Linked DNA regions of Homo sapiens: all the other regions are linked to region 2. The links are contacts of gene promoters, found by promoter capture Hi-C in human tissues and cell types (Jung and others, 2019). All regions are on one chromosome and are shown on one strand. The core of a region is centred on a gene start or on the middle of the fragment in contact, and the rest is flanking DNA. Distances in the headings are between cores, read along the strand shown.

Region 1 (2,700 bases), core at 74-2,573, 830 kb before region 2:
GACCACTACTTTCTCTTCTTAATGTATTAGCTAAAGTGATCTTACTAAACCATAAATCAGAGCATCTTTCTCCACTATCAAACAATCAATTGAATTTATCCTGTCATGCAAATTTCTTACTTTGAGCCAGAAGTTCCTCCAAGATCCGTCCCCACTTCTCTCTGCACTTATCTCTTGCAACACTGGCCTTATAGCTTTCCCTCAAATCCATTTACTATTCCTCTACCATGTGCAGTTTTTTTTCCTACGATTCTCTTTAAGTTTTGTTTGTTTGTTTGTTTGTTTTGTTTTGTTTTGTTTTGAGACAGTCTTGTTCTGTCACTGAGATTGGAGTGCAGTAGTGGGATCTCAGCTCACTGCGAACTCTGCCTCCCGGGTTCAAAGGATTGTCCTGCCTCAGCCTCCTGAGTAGCTGGGATTACAGGCGCATGCCCCCATGCCCAGCTAATTTTTGTATTTTTAGTAGAGACGGGTTTCACCATGTTGGCCAGGCTGGTCTCGAACTCCAGACCTCAGGTGATCCACCCACCTCGGCCTCCCAAAATGCTGGGATTACAGGCATGAGCCACCATGCCTGGCCTCTAAATTCATTACCTAAATTTCACCTTTACAGTGAGCGCCCATTGAAATATAATACTACCATGTGAAACTCACGTCTATCTCCAAAATTTTTTACACCCTTCACTGATTCTACTTTCCATTTAGCATTTATAATTTGGTATCCGAAACTTACAGTGTTTATTTTCAGTCTATCCCATAAGAATGCAAGCTCTGTGGAGACAGATATTTTTCCTGTTGTGTTTTTGTTCTCATTGTATCCTAAATGCCAGCCATGCAGAAATGCTTAAAAAGCAATTGTTACATAAACAAATGAAGGAGCAGAACAAAAGATTAGACATGGGGTAATGGTATGAGTGTTTAGATGATGACTTCCAGATGTTGGGATAAAACACCTTAAATGCTGCCTTAGGTTAGAAGCATTCTAGAAACGCAGGCAAGAATAAAGCCCCAGCTGAATCACTTGTGTACTTTATACTGTTAAAGAAATAACCACGTGAAATGGTTTGTCCATAGCTTGACAGCTGCATTACCTAGGAGGGAGCTTCCTAAGAAGAAATTCTATGGCTTAATTTCACCCTTTAATAATAAAATGAGGATAATACCCCCACTAAAAAAAATCTGGGATTCTAATCTGCTGAACTTGTTTTGAACTTTAAATTAAAATACTCACCTAAAAAAGAAAAAGAAAAAAAAAAACCACCTAACAAAATTGCCCTACCTTAGAAGTCTCTCTATTTTTGGAACTAAATACTCTTTTCACACACATGACAAAATCCCGAAGTAATTGAGTTACTAGAGGGATTTTTAGTATTAAAATGATATTTTCCAGGCTCCAACATGCAATTTTGACAAGAACTGATAATATAGCTTAAAAAGTTATTTGCTAAGCAAAATCTTTTGAGAGTGGTAATTTGGATAGGACTGAAGCAGAATTAAATCGCAACAGGAGTTAGGGAAAATGGGCCAAATAATATAAGATTTACTGGAATTTGGTTAGGGAGTAGCTGAGAAGCTTGTCTGATTCATTTCCAGTTATAAAAAGGATTTTTACATTGCCCTTTCATGCAGACTTAACTTCAAAGACGTTATTAGCAACTGTCACTGGGAAGGTGTGGGAGAGATCCTTGTTCACAAAGTAGTATTCAAGAGTGTGAACCCCCTCACCATTTCATAACAATTAATTAAATTGTTAGAACAGGAACTTGGCCTCTGTCTGAATATTTGAAATGTAAAACATTCCTTAGAGCAGTAGTTCTCAATCTAACATGCACACTCAGGAGTTTTAAAAACTAGCTGATGGCCAGGCCTTTATTTCCATATTCTAACTTTATATTCCAGGTATTGGAATTTTTTTAAGTTGTTTTAAAATTTTAAAACGAAAAATTCATTTTATTTATTTTTTATTTTCAAATTTTAAAGTTCTTCAGAGTTTAAAGAAGCACCAGGGATTGAAAGCACGGTTTATGGGAGTTGTGATTTCATTGTTGAATACGATATTTGAAATACTTTCATTATTAAAGCCAATTGTGGTTAGTGCACCTGTTTTGTAAAGAGTAAAAATGGAATAATAAATCTGTTACGTTTTATTATAAAATTCTCAAGAATCTACTTTTTTTGAACATGTTGGTAATGTCATTAGGCAAGTTCCGACGGTTTCTGTTTATTGACTTTTTCCATATACTTGTCCCCTAAAAGAGTAGATACAAACTTATTCAAGGAGAAAAGGAGGATAATTTGTTTCCGTAAGAGTCTGAGGCATTTCCTTTTTTGTTGTATCATTAGTCATTCTTATTTAGTGATGGGAGCATTTTATTTACCAGAAACATTATTTGAGTTGTTTCCTAGAATCTATTATAATTGATCAGGACTAGAACTTAATAAAAAGCAAATTAAGTTAATGACACAAAAAATGACACCATTAGGGACCAGCTAGCAACCTTGTTTTCATCAGAAATGTGGCATGTAACTAAAGACATATGTGAGGAAATGTGGTCATTTTTGGTTGGTATCAATTACAACTACTTAAGTACCTAAGGCATTGTATTCCTGAATCATTCCTGGTAAAACGGTTTCATCCTTGTTATTAAATTTCTCGTCATGAGCACATTACTCAGGGCAAACCTTTCCCTTTAGTCAATG
Region 2 (2,700 bases), core at 54-2,553:
CCTGAAGAATAATTTGGGCATGGAGGGAGCTCTTACCCCTACAGTAGAAGGTAGACCTTCTAACCATAAGTCGTCGGGTTTTCCTTCTCCCTTCTTAGAATGATAATTAGAGGAAACAAAGAGGTCAGAGGAAACGAGTAGCAGTGATAATGTCACCCGCGTACTAATAAGCACCAATCTTCCTTCCGCCAAAAGTATTCTTTTTCTTCTAAAAGGAATTTCTGAGAATGAAGGTAGGTCAAGGCCTATGGCGATAAGTGGTTGCTTTAGAAGAGACAAAAACAGATATAGGAATTTATTATTAAAGTATCATTTAAGCAAAAAATAAAAGTATGAGCGCAAAATTTTAAAATCTTTCAGGGAAAAAAAATGAGCGGAATTCCCTCTAAGAGTTAACTCTTTCTCGCTCTGCCTTTTTAGAGCAAAGGAAGTTCCAGTGGGCTGGGAGTAAGGGACAGATTGTGGACCCTGACGAAAGGCGTGCTGGAGAAAGCTGGGAGCCCGCCGTTCGCACACAAAGCTGCGGAGTTCCCAAGCGGCGGGCGTTCTCGCCCCGGGGTACCGCAGCGCGCCAGGAAGCGCCCTGGGCTCTCTGGCTGTCCAGCCGCTCTGCTGGTGGCCGGGAGAAGTTAGTCACCCGGAGCCCGAATCCGGCGAGCGTCAAAGCATCAAGAGGCTGGAGAATGGGGAGGGAGGAAACCGGGTGCCGGGACGGAGGGGAGGAAGCGAAGGGAACGCGGTGGTTAGGGGACGCACGGGAAGCTGAAAAGCTCTGGCTGGTGGATGGAGTTGCACGGTCTGCGAGGCCAGAGCGCACGGGTGTGCAAAGGGGAAAAACTTGCGGCAGGAACTTCCCACCGAGGGCGAGAAAAGCAGGCAAGAAGGAGGCAGGGAGAGACTTGAAACGTCTCAATAACTTTAACCAAAACACCCGTTCAGGAGATGAGGTAAGCCAAGGTTAGCCAACCCCAATTGGTTGTGAAATATCAGACAGACCCGGAGCCGCTGTGGCTTTAAAAGTGGCCAAGGAAATCTGTTTTTCTTGCCCCATTACTTTTTATTTTCCCCTCTCCCCTCCTACCACCTCGCCGGGTCCCAGTCCCTTCCTCCTACTTCGTCTCCCTTTCCTCGATCACCCTCCTCTTTTGCCCTCCCCCATCTGATTAGGCGCGGACTGGGAAGGGTGGGAGTGGTGGGGGAAGCTCTCCCTTTAAGAGGCAGCGTGCAGTGACGAACTGTTGAAATTGCCATTGCAGGATGGCATGCCGCTATAAATTCATTGTTCCACCTCCTCGCATCTTCACAGCGCTCGCGCTGCTCTCGGCGCTCGCAGCTGCCGACTGGGGATGACGGCGGGCAGGAGGAGACCGCAGCCGAAGGGACACAGACACGCCGCTTCACCAGCTCGCCTCAGGCTGCCCCCCTGCATTTTTGTTTTAATTTTTACGGCTTTTTCCCCTCTCTTTCTTCCCTTCCTCCTGGTCCCAGCAGAGCCAAGGAAACCCACAAAATAAGAAAGGAAGTGGGCCCCGGAGCTTGGAACCTCCACAGCCGGCTTGTCCAGCGCAGCGCGGGGGCGGGAGGCTGCGCGCACCAGTTGCCAGCCCGGTGCGCGGTACCTTTCCTTACTTTTCTTGAAACAGCGATCGTGCCTGCATTTGGTGGTTTTTTGGTTTTTGTTTTTTTCCTTTTCCCGTATTTGCTGAATCTCCACTATCCGACTTTTTTTTTTTAATCTTTTCTTTCCCCCCCCCCCCACCCCACCTCTTTCTGGAGCACGAATCCAAACATTTTCCCAAGCAACAAAGAAAAGTTCGCACGCTGGCACCGCAGCCCGGACAGGCTGGCGCTGCTGCCGGGCCCCCCTCCCTCCGACACTTGACTCAATCCTGCAAGCAAGTGTGTGTGTGTCCCCATCCCCCGCCCCGTTAACTTCATAGCAAATAACAAATACCCATAAAGTCCCAGTCGCGCAGCCCCTCCCCGCGGGCAGCGCACTATGCTGCTCGGGTGGGCGTCCCTGCTGCTGTGCGCGTTCCGCCTGCCCCTGGCCGCGGTCGGCCCCGCCGCGACACCTGCCCAGGATAAAGCCGGGCAGCCTCCGACTGCTGCAGCAGCCGCCCAGCCCCGCCGGCGGCAGGGGGAGGAGGTGCAGGAGCGAGCCGAGCCTCCCGGCCACCCGCACCCCCTGGCGCAGCGGCGCAGGAGCAAGGGGCTGGTGCAGAACATCGACCAACTCTACTCCGGCGGCGGCAAGGTGGGCTACCTCGTCTACGCGGGCGGCCGGAGGTTCCTCTTGGACCTGGAGCGAGATGGTTCGGTGGGCATTGCTGGCTTCGTGCCCGCAGGAGGCGGGACGAGTGCGCCCTGGCGCCACCGGAGCCACTGCTTCTATCGGGGCACAGTGGACGGTAGTCCCCGCTCTCTGGCTGTCTTTGACCTCTGTGGGGGTCTCGACGGCTTCTTCGCGGTCAAGCACGCGCGCTACACCCTAAAGCCACTGCTGCGCGGACCCTGGGCGGAGGAAGAAAAGGGGCGCGTGTACGGGGATGGGTCCGCACGGATCCTGCACGTCTACACCCGCGAGGGCTTCAGCTTCGAGGCCCTGCCGCCGCGCGCCAGCTGCGAAACCCCCGCGTCCACACCGGAGGCCCACGAGCATGCTCCGGCGCACAGCAACCCGAGCGGACGCGCAGCACT
Region 3 (2,700 bases), core at 176-2,675, 620 kb before region 2:
TTCTTCACTGCTAAACACTGAATGTTATTTCAGTGTGATGATGACCAAGGAGTGATCCAGTCACTCTGTTTCATTTTCAAGAGTTACACATTCTATTGTCTGGAAAGGTTTCCAGCCTCATTTAAGTGATTTGTAGTGTGACTCCAGTTCTGACAGGATGTGGCGTGCAGCGTGACAGCAGACTTTCCATGTTTCGAGGACCATCGGATTCATATCCGAGAATCGACCACATGTCAGTGAATATTTCTTAATGTCGGTACTTTTATTTTTCAGAATTACCGAATACTGACGATGCATTAGTGCCTCTGAAAATTCCCAAAACCCATAATGATTATAAAGTGTTTCCAAAAGAAAATGTAAATGGTAACATAGCTTCCATTATAATTATTGTTCTAAAAGATAATGCATATATTTTTATTAATTTTAGATTTCATAAATAATTAAACATTGCTCCTGATTATAAAGAAAAGAAAACTTATCTGCAGTTTTTCTTTCATTTTTGTAAATACTCTTAAAACAACACAAAGAAAGATTCCATTGAATGAATATGCTGCACATCGGATTACTTGTATTTCATATATATTAAATATATACTTCTTTAAGATAAATCTTGTTTGTTTTTCAATTTCCACTAAAAGATTCATCCTAAAGTTCGAATCCCTCTAACAAACTTCCACAACATGTGTCCCTTTGCTTGGCATTATGTAAACACTGGGAATATTTACTGAATGGAAACCAAACCACAAAGTTCTGCAGCCAACTTCAAAAAGAAATTAACTCACAAAGGCCTCAGTATACATGGTTTTGCACATAATTTCTTTTGAGTAACTCATGCTCCCGTTCACACCTCACTGCAGTAACTTCACGTGTTTCACTGATGCAACAAATGCATGCATGTAGCAAAACAAAACATGATACATTTCTTTCAATGGGGGCAGGTCACTTTTAATATGAGAAATATATTTTGGAATTATTTGCTTTGTTGTTTTATCAAAGTTGAAATGAAAAGACATTAAGCAATATCTATATCTTAATATTGTTTTTTTGAGTTGGGGTTTCACACTGTCACCCAGGCTGGAGTGCAGTGTTGTGACCACAGCTCACTGAAGCCTCAAACTCCTAGGCTCAAATAATCTTCCCACCTCAGCCTCCTGAGTAGCTGAGACTATAGGCACATGCCACTACACCAAGCTAATTTTCTTATTTTTATTTTGCAAAGGCAAGGTCCCGCTTTGATGTCCAGGCTGGGTGCCAATCAATCCTGACTTCAAGTGATCCCACTGCTTTGGTCTCCCAAAGTGCTGGGATTACAGACATGAACCACCATGCCCAGCTATCCTGAGCATAATGAAAGGAATGTGATGCGAATATGCCCCCATGAATAACGCAAACTTGAAAAGTAAGTTTTACTGCTAATCTGATGATTTTATCATAAATTGCTTTTCCTTTTGCTTGCTAATACTTAAAATAATTTTAAAAGTTATAAAGGAATATGTTTAACCCTGTTTTTCTTGTGACTAGTCTTTTTTAACCCATATTAAGAAATTTAGATTATCCTATCTAAACCTAATTCTTGTCTCACTCCCTAATCGTAAATTTGTTAATGTTGCTTCTACCTCTAGCTTAAAGATTGATTTCAGAATTTCTAAAAACAGATGCCTCCAAACAGCATTGTTGCTTTTAAAGACATAAAAGTAATTCATCTTTTTAATACGTAAAATCTTTTTGTATTTTAGAAGATTGATGACACTTGAGAATCTTCTGTATCAGATGCAGGGTACAATCATAAGGGGGGCTATGCTCATGTACCCTGGCCAGATTTCAGGCTGCAATTGAAGTCATGCTCTTAAGAAAAGGGATTATTCAGCCAGGCGCAGTGGTTTACCCCTGTAATCCCAGCACTTTGGGAGGCCAAGGCAGGCGGATCACGAGGTCAGGAGATCGAGACCATCCTGGCTAACGCAGTGAAACCCCGTCTCTACTGAAAATACAAAAAATTAGCTGGGCGTGGTGGCGGGCACCTGTAGTCCCAGCTACTAGGGAGGCTGAGGCAGGAGAATGGCGTGAACCAGGGAGGCGGAGCTTGCAGTGAGCCGAGATCGCGCCACTGCACTCCAGCCTGGGCCACAGAAAAAATCTCCGTCTCAAAAAAAAAAAAAAAAAAAAAAAAAAAAAAAAAAAAAAAAAAAGAAAAGGAAAGAAAAGAAAATGGATTATTCTTCATTGGCATTGAGATTAGCCTCTTCCTTTAACTTCCTGCAAATATGTTAAAGAGTAATAACTTCTGAGGTTTTCATTCCCGTGCAATCATTCTTTTTAAATATTTCAGTTGAAGAGGGTCCTTTAGCCTTGGTGGTAGCAGCCTCAGCAGAAGATTTGGTCATTATCTCTGCACTGTCATTCTAACTGGGACCGATTTTGCCATCATAGCTAGAGTATCATCTCCCTGTAGATCTCCTCTCTCAGACAAACTATTATTTGGCAATTTGCTTCTGCCACTAGAGAGACCCACCCCTACGATGGCTCTTAACTGCCCTGCTTCACGGCCATGGGCTCGATCTGGCGCTCAGCAGCCCAGTTCACCAAAGCTGTACCACCTCTGCTCACATAATCAATTGACAGATACCAGATACTATTGTACCTAAATATCTCTACAGTGGCCTGCTCTCCACTGGAAATAACCAAAACAGGATTTCAAGT
Region 4 (2,700 bases), core at 197-2,696, 540 kb before region 2:
TTCTGCCTCCCAAAGAGCTGGGATTATAGGTGTGAACCACCATGCCCAACTAACTGATATATTTCCTAAACATTGGCAACATAAGCTGATATATTTTTGAAATGGAGGCTTCCAAACTGACATAGGCACAGGAAAGTAAGTCACTATGATATTCCATTTTCATTCCCCACTATGACCCATGTTTCCACTGGTCAGCTTCACTAACATCAAGATTCCCAGGCTCTCAGAGAAAATTCTAATATTTAATATTTAATTAATATTTAAGCAAAACTAACAGAGTAAAACAATCAGTCCATTGCAACTGTTGAGGTTTTGTAAGGTGAAAATTTCTCTTTAAGCACTAAAAAAATGTCTACTAAAGTAGGTTATTTCTCAGTATTTTACGGCACATTACTGTTCTTAAAATTTTTATACAGTTGTAAAAAATTATAACTCCCTCAAATCTTAACTAGTGTTCACCCTAGTAGCACTTGACTGTGGAGCCTAATTATTTCCCGGTAGCATGTTTGACATCTATTAATGGTCATTATTAGGTGGCTCAATTTTACACAGCCAGAAAAAATGCAGAAAATCCCACAAATCTGATTTCTCACTTCCATATGCATAAGCCGAGGCTTGGAGAAGTAAAAAATGACCAAGGCCATGGTAATAAGTAGTGACAGAAGCAATCTGGATATGTTAGGTTTCAGATCAATGCTGTTTGCAATGTACCATTTATTCCCTTTCTATGTCTATTGACTAGGAATATGTTTGGAGTGTGTGTGTGTGTGTGTGTGTGTGTGTGTGTGTGTGTATACATGTGTATACTAAATGACTATGTAGTTGTAGCATTATCTTTGTGTGGAATTCCCCTTGTGGCTTTCAGCTTGCTTCATTTTCCTCTTGGATTGCAGTATGTGAAGACAGGATAAGCACAGATTTATGTAGTACCATTTTATTACAATATAATGAGACCTTTGTTTTTAGCTTTTTATTCTCTGTTTCTAAGAGAAAAAAATATGAGAACAGGTACTAACAACACTTACATAAAACAGGGTCTCATCTTCTCTGCAGTTGGTATCTAGCTTGCAAAAAGTTAAAGTTTTTACATTTATTTATTAGTTATAAAGGCAAAGTGATTTTCTTTGTTCATTCAAACCCTTGGAAGAAGAAAGTTTACAATAAATGCAATGAATTTGAAAATTATTTTTGTAATTATGTTCTCATTTATCTATTGCATAATTTCTAAAATATAATTTAGAATATTGTGAATTTTTCAAAAGAATCCAATATATTGTATTCTAATTTAAATAAATATTTTGTGGTGATTTGGTGGTGTTGTGAGGCAGATGAATGGAGTCCTGCTGAGCTGCGTAGAGTTAACTCAGGTCTGCTGGAAATGTCTCATGTGTGTCATTTCTCCATTGTCTTCAGAGATATTCATCAGGAAACACCCAACACACCAGTGTAACTTCACCTATCTCTGACATGCTGATCTGAACGCCAAGCCATTTCTCCTTTGATTGCTTGTATGTAAAATTAAAAGACATTTAGCATATCACTTTATACCCAATTCTAAAAGAGAAGATCTGCAATAAAAAAATGCCATTACTAACAGTTGTTTTACCAATCAATTATTTTGTTCATTATCAATCATAAAAGTTCAAGTCTTTCTCATTCCAGATTTCAGAGTAAGGCTGCTAAAAATACTACTACTACCACCACCAACAGCAAAAACAGTACATCACAAACAAATGAATGTGCCAACTTTATATCAATACTGGAGTTGATTAAAAATACTTAAAAATATAGCCACAATTTTTTTAAAATAAAGCTTTCAACAACAGAATTATTAAACATAATTTTCTTTGTTTAAATGCTACTTGTCTTTATTTAGTACTTTTCAAGTAAAAAATTCCTAAAATAATAATCTTTAAAATGCTTTAATTTCTGTTTAGTGATTCATAACTGCCTTTTTCAAACAATAAAAAAGCCCTCAGTGTTTTTTTTTAGAAAACAATTTTGAGAAAGAGATTGCAGATTATTTTCCATCATACAATTACTAATTTGGACATGATTAAGACCTCATGTTTCAAGACCTCACACAATAACCCAAGATTAGTGTAGTGTTTAATGGACATTTAGATAATCTGAAATATATTTGGTTATGCTTCTTCCTGTGGCTCAAAGCTCTTGGGTGATCTTTGTTTCTGAGATCAGAAAACAGCCAGGGTCAAACACACACCTAAAAGGCCCTTGGTAGGCCTAGGAAGATAGAGAAGAATCAGTGCTGTCAAGAAATTGTAGGCCAGGCACGGTGGCTCACACTTTGGGAAGCTAAAGCGGGCGGATCATTTGAGGCTAGTTTGAGATCAGCCTGGCCAACATTGTGAAACCCTGTCTCTACTAAAAATATAAAAATTAGCTGGGCCTGGTGGTGTATGCCTGTAGTCACAGCTAGTTGGTAGGCTAAGACACAAGAATCTCTTGAATCCGGGAGGCAGAGGCCTTCATGCCACCACATACCAGCCTGGGTGACAGTGAGACTCTGTAGCAAAAAATAAAAAATAAAAAATAAAAAAATAAATTGCAGAAGTCCTTGGTGAAACAAAACACATATCCAAGAACATAGTCAAAAAATGAAATATCAAAATAATACAACAGTATTGATTAAAGCTGTGTCTACCTGATCCCAAGTTAGGATTTTCAGATCCCAGTTGA
Region 5 (2,700 bases), core at 105-2,604, 650 kb before region 2:
AAGCATTTGATGACTATACTGCCCAAAGCAATCTACAGATTCAGTGCTTTTCCTATTAAATTACCAGTATCTTTTTTTTTTACAGAATTGGAAAAAACTATTCTGAAATTCACATAGAACTAAAAAGAAGCTGAATAGACAAAGCACTCTAAGCAAAAAGAAGAAAGCCAGAGGCATAACATTATCCAGCTTCAAACTATACTCTAAGGCTACAGTAACCAAAAAGGCATGATACTCTACATATACTATACAACCAGACACATAGACAAATGTAATAGAAAAGAGAATCCAGAAATGGAGCCAGACACCTACAGCCATCTAATCTTCAACAAAGTTGACAAAAATAAGCAATGAAGAAAGGACTCCCTATTCAATAAATAATGCTGGGGTAGCTGGCTAGCCATATGCAGAGAAATGAAACTGGATCCCCACATTTCACCATATACAAACATCAACTCAAGATGGATATTGTTTTTTGAGGTCTTACATCTTAAGATGGTTTTATCTTAAGATGTAAGACCTCAAACTGTAAGACTCCCAGAAGGAAACCTAGGAAACTCCATTCTGGACATTGGCCTTGGGAAAGGATTTATTACTAAGTCCCCAAAAGCAATTGCAATAAAAACAAAAATCTACAAGTGAGATGTAATCAAACAAAAAAGCTTCTGCACAGCAAAAAAAACTATCAACAGAATAAACAGGCAACCTACAGAATGGGAGAAAATATTCAAAAACTCTGCATCCAACAACAGTCTAATATCCAAAATTTATAAAGAACTTAAACAATTGAAGAAGCAAAAATCAAACTACTCCATTAAAAACGGGCAAAGAACATGAAAAGACACTTCTCAAAAGAAGATATACAAATGGCCAATAAACTTTAAAAAATGCTCCACATCACTAATCATCATGGAAAATCCAATCAAAACCACAATGTGATACCATTTCACTCCAGTCAGAATGGCTGTTATTAACATAAAAAACCGACAGATGCTGGCAAGTCTGCAGAGAACAGGAGAGGCATATGCTGTTGGTGAGAATGTAAATTAGCTCAGCCACTGTGAAAAGCAGTTTAGAGATTTCTCAAAGAGCTTAAAGTAGAACTACCATTTGACCCAGCAATCTCATTACTGGATATATGTCCAAAAGAAAACAAATTGTTCTACCTAAAAGACACAAGCACTCACATTCATCACAGCACTATTCGCAGTACAAAAGACATGAAATCAACCTAGGGGCCCATCAGTGGTGGATCAGAAAAAGGAAATGTGGTACATATACACCATGGACTATTACATGGCCATAAAAAAGAATGAAATCATGTTCTTTGTAGCAAAATGGATGCAGCTGGAGGCCATTATCATAAACAAATTAACTCAGGAACAGAAAACTAAACACCACGTGTTCTCACTTATAAATGGTAGGTAAACATTGACTACACATAGATATAAAGATGGGAATAATAGACATTGGAGACTACTAGAGGGTGGAAGGAGGGAAGAGGGCAAGGATTTAAAAACTGTTGGGTACTAAGCTCAGTACCTGGATGATGGGATCATTCCTACTCCAAACCTTAGCATCATGCAATATTCCTAGTTATTAAACCTCTGAATCTAAAATAAAAGTTGAAAAGAAAAAAAAAAAAGCTTCTTACTGCTGGAATGAGAGGTGACAGGTAACCCAGGGGAGGAGGCTAGAATGATCCATGTCATAATGAACTGAACTTGAATACATCAGTATGAACTCAAACTCATGTTTAACTTAATATGGATACAGATGGTTACATGAAGAAATATTTATAGATATGTATTTACACACGGGTTACTATAAACCCATATATATTTCTTTTGCTTTCTCACCTTAAATGTCCAGAAGCAAAGATACCCCAGTAGAAAAGAGCACACCTAACATGTAGATCTTCATTTTTAATATTAATCTCCATTTAAAAAAAGAGAAACAACAACAACAAAACCAGGACTTTATAAATGACTGATTTCAGGACTAGACCAGGAAACATACAAGATACTCCTGGAGCATTTTGCAGTTATAGAAATTAAGAAAACACTCAACACACAGGCTAATGGTGCAAGTATATCAAAGAGGCACAAAAACCAACAGAAAGAACATCCAGTGGCCAAGGCTGAAACAAAGAACAACAGAGTGAATAGATTAGAACTGGTTTATACCCCAAAGTATAAAATAAATATCCACAGGTCCATAGTTTTAGAAATAAATGACCAAGAAATTGGGGAGAAAAGGCAAATCTCTCATGCTAGAGAATTTCAAGTAATTTATGTTGTTATGCTTCCCTCATAGAAGTGTTACATAATTCCCCACTTCTTCAGTGTACGCTGCTCATAGTAGCTTCCTGCCAAAGAGAAAAATATGGGAAGGAGAGTAATTTTACAATGGATAAATTTGACAAGCGCCACTTCAGCCAGGTGATGGGATGATATCAACAATGATAAGTCGTGTTGATAATGTGAACCACTGATATGTTGTTATGAAAACTGGCACGTTACCTCCATAGTCTTTTATCTGGGGAACATCTAACCCTAATCATTGGAAAAATATTAAATTCCAATAGAGGGACATCCTACCACATACCTGACCAGTATTTCTCAAGATTTTCATAATCAATTTTTAGAACCAAAACCAAGAGAAGTCTGAGAAACTCACAGCAAAGATGATTCTAAGGAG
Region 6 (2,700 bases), core at 106-2,605, 710 kb before region 2:
ATTTATTGTTGATGCTGCTGCTAATCCTTGCTTAAGGATACAGTATTATGAAATATATAAATTCCATAAATGCAACTACAAGTGCCAGAAAAAATGAAGTAATGAAAGAAGGTAAGTTTGGGGTATGTGGCCCATTTCCATTTGTAACCACCTCAAAATTTCAAAGACACAGCTGCCAGGCCAACAGTAATAAATATCATGGCCTACTCTACAAATAATGTGGATGATATGGCGCCATATGAGTTGATTGCTGGGATCCAATCAGAATCTCTTAATTAATGTGAGAAAGTTTTTGCTTGGGTGATGTGTACAGCATTGTTTTTCAAGTTGAGCTTAGTTGAGGCTTGAGGGCTGGCATATAGAGTGAATGTAAAATTCCATTCCAAAGTATTCAATTATTTGAGGAAAATATTCGAGCAATGTATGAGGTATAATCCTGGCTGAAAGCCTGCAGTATTAAAACAAGATTACATTCTTAACTAACTAGTGTTAAATCCATAATTTCATCTATAACCTCTCTTGGGAAACTTCTAATTTTAAGATATGTAGTTCAAAAAAATAAATAATATTTAGCTTCAAAATAGATTTAACATAAATTTAATGGACTCACTAGAAGTTTCCTCTGGGACTTCTAAATGATAACATTGTTTTGTCTCATTTCCACATCATATATTACAGGAATATAAAAATATTAAGGCTTACAAAGTACTTTTTCATTTGCTTTTCACATAACTGTGTGATCTATAGGAGCTGAGAAAACTAATTGTGGCTGAAAGAAGTTAGATTACTTTCCAAATTTATTCAGATAAATATTAACTTAATAAAGTTTAGAATTAAACCCCGATATTTTCCAAAATATCAATATTATATTTTATGGTAGCTTGCACAAAAGTAATTTTAAAAGACTTTATAAAAACAAATCCAGATACTTGCCGTAAAAATATAACACTTTAAAGGGCGTTAGATATTTATTTTATTCTTCCTCTTAAGTTAACTCTTGATGTCTTTCTGTGCACATTGAAGTCCAGAATGGAGTGTAGAGAGATCTGAAATTTTCTCTTTCATTTTGTTCATAAAAAGTGAAATAATGGTTTACCATCATTTTATTTTATAGAATGTTTATATGAGGAAAAAGACTCTAAACTGCCTTAATTTAGAACTTACCTGTGTATGCATATTAGAACACTAATAAAAATGTTTTGAATCTCAAGAAATTTGGACACAAATGCAGTCAAACTTTCGATTTTTAATTTTTTAAGATAAAGAGTAAACATTTTCACAAGAATGTTGTATAAATTACATTTCTGAAAGTTCGGTACAAGTTTATATACTAGTAATTGAACAAACCAGGTGAAATTAAGCGGGTAAGAAGATCAAATATTCTTACATGAAAAACAAACAGAATAAATAAACCTAGATTTTTCTGTTGCCTCTGTCTGAATGCTTTAAAAACATTTCCTAAGAGTTAGAATACAACAGATATAAAAAGCTGTGCCTTTTTACCAGGTCTCATCAGTTTTCCTACTAAAGCTATAGCACATTCACTCAGTTTCAAAGAAGGACTAGGTTCGATTACCGCACAATTCACAATGTATATTTTCGAATATGCCAGTGACCTACAAGTATTCTATATTCCAATAAAATTACCATATTAGTAAATTTTTTACCTCAAAGTAAAATTACTTGTAATTTCATTTTGAATTTATTCTCTTAATAATCTCAAAACAAAAAATAACATGAAAAGTTTAAACACGGGATTCATATTTATTATCACCATTTATTTACTATTTTAGGTACTTTAAGAGTTTTCCTGTTCATTTTACATTCCCTGCCAATTTTGACATTTGTAATGTGAATTCAAGATCTATACAAAAAAATGCAAAGTTATGAAACATTTTTAAGTGAAATCAGGAGAAAATTTTATGCCTTTGTTCTATTAAAAGGGTTAATTTTATTTTATTTTATTTTTTTTTTTGAGACAAAGTCTCATTTGTCGCCCAGGCTGGAGTGCGGTAGCGCAATCTCGGCTCACTGCAAGCTCCGCCTCCCGGGTTCACGCCATTCTCCTGCCTCAGCCTCCCGAGTAGCTGGGACTACAGGCACCCGCCACCATGCCCAGCTAACTTTTTGTATTTTTAGTAGAGACGGGGTTTCACCGTGTTAGCCAGGATGGTCTCGATCTCCTGACCTCGTGATCTGCCCGCCTCAGCCTCCCAAAGTGCTGGGATTACAGGCGTGAGCCACCGCGCCCGGCCCAAAGGGTTAATTTTTAAAGGGTCAAAAAATAAATGAGAAAAAAGTTAATAATTTCTGTGTAGCAATAAATACAAAAAATGCAAAGAGAAACAATGCAGACTGGTTCAACAAATGTGTAATGAACAAAGGATTACTCTCCAGAACATATGAAAACCTCCCACAAATTAGTAAGAAAAAGATAAATAACTCAGCATACTAATTGGCAATATGCACAAACGGGCATTTTGATGAATAGCTCTTAATTCTGTAAAAGGAGTTTAACCGCTTTTGTAATCAGGGAAATTCCAATTAAAGCCACAATGAGATACCATTTTACACCCACCAGATTGGCAAAAATTAACAAGTCCCAAAACATGAAGCTTTGGCAAGGATGTAGAATAACGGGAACTCATACAAACCCGATAGACTCTACACTAGTGGGAATATTTTGAAAAGCAATTTGGC

What was found. The method cuts DNA at HindIII sites, captures the fragments that hold promoters and counts their contacts. A contact is called where the count stands out against the background at its distance.
Region 1: a fragment that was not itself captured here is called in contact with the fragment with the promoter of ADAMTS5 in region 2 in 1 of the 25 tissues and cell types used here (heart right ventricle).
Region 3: a contact is called between a fragment that was not itself captured here and the fragment with the promoter of ADAMTS5 in region 2, in 1 of the 25 tissues and cell types used here (IMR-90 fibroblasts).
Region 4: a fragment that was not itself captured here is called in contact with the fragment with the promoter of ADAMTS5 in region 2 in 3 of the 25 tissues and cell types used here (IMR-90 fibroblasts, dorsolateral prefrontal cortex and lymphoblastoid cells).
Region 5: a fragment that was not itself captured here is called in contact with the fragment with the promoter of ADAMTS5 in region 2 in 2 of the 25 tissues and cell types used here (dorsolateral prefrontal cortex and heart left ventricle).
Region 6: a fragment that was not itself captured here is called in contact with the fragment with the promoter of ADAMTS5 in region 2 in 2 of the 25 tissues and cell types used here (bladder and dorsolateral prefrontal cortex).

Annotation. Positions count from the first base shown.
Region 1 is chr21:27,794,566-27,797,265 of GRCh38, reverse strand. No RefSeq gene overlaps it. Among named protein-coding and RNA genes, the nearest start is that of LINC00113, 74 kb to the right of the region's middle. The HindIII fragment of the contact is 4,360 bases long and covers 1-2,700 here.
Region 2 is chr21:26,965,691-26,968,390 of GRCh38, reverse strand. ADAMTS5 (ADAM metallopeptidase with thrombospondin type 1 motif 5) reads left to right here and starts at 1,303. Exons shown (of 8, transcript NM_007038.5): 1 at 1,303-2,700. The coding sequence starts at 2,000. LOC124905050 reads left to right here. Exons shown (of 3, transcript XM_047441063.1): 2 at 421-947; 3 at 1,307-1,735. The coding sequence ends at 1,735. The HindIII fragment of the contact is 10,779 bases long and covers 1-2,700 here.
Region 3 is chr21:27,584,607-27,587,306 of GRCh38, reverse strand. No RefSeq gene overlaps it. Among named protein-coding and RNA genes, the nearest start is that of LINC01673, 53 kb to the left of the region's middle. The HindIII fragment of the contact is 6,113 bases long and covers 1-2,700 here.
Region 4 is chr21:27,507,509-27,510,208 of GRCh38, reverse strand. No RefSeq gene overlaps it. Among named protein-coding and RNA genes, the nearest start is that of LINC01673, 130 kb to the left of the region's middle. The HindIII fragment of the contact is 3,550 bases long and covers 1-2,700 here.
Region 5 is chr21:27,612,736-27,615,435 of GRCh38, reverse strand. No RefSeq gene overlaps it. Among named protein-coding and RNA genes, the nearest start is that of LINC01673, 25 kb to the left of the region's middle. The HindIII fragment of the contact is 3,174 bases long and covers 1-2,700 here.
Region 6 is chr21:27,675,388-27,678,087 of GRCh38, reverse strand. No RefSeq gene overlaps it. Among named protein-coding and RNA genes, the nearest start is that of LINC01673, 38 kb to the right of the region's middle. The HindIII fragment of the contact is 6,931 bases long and covers 1-2,700 here.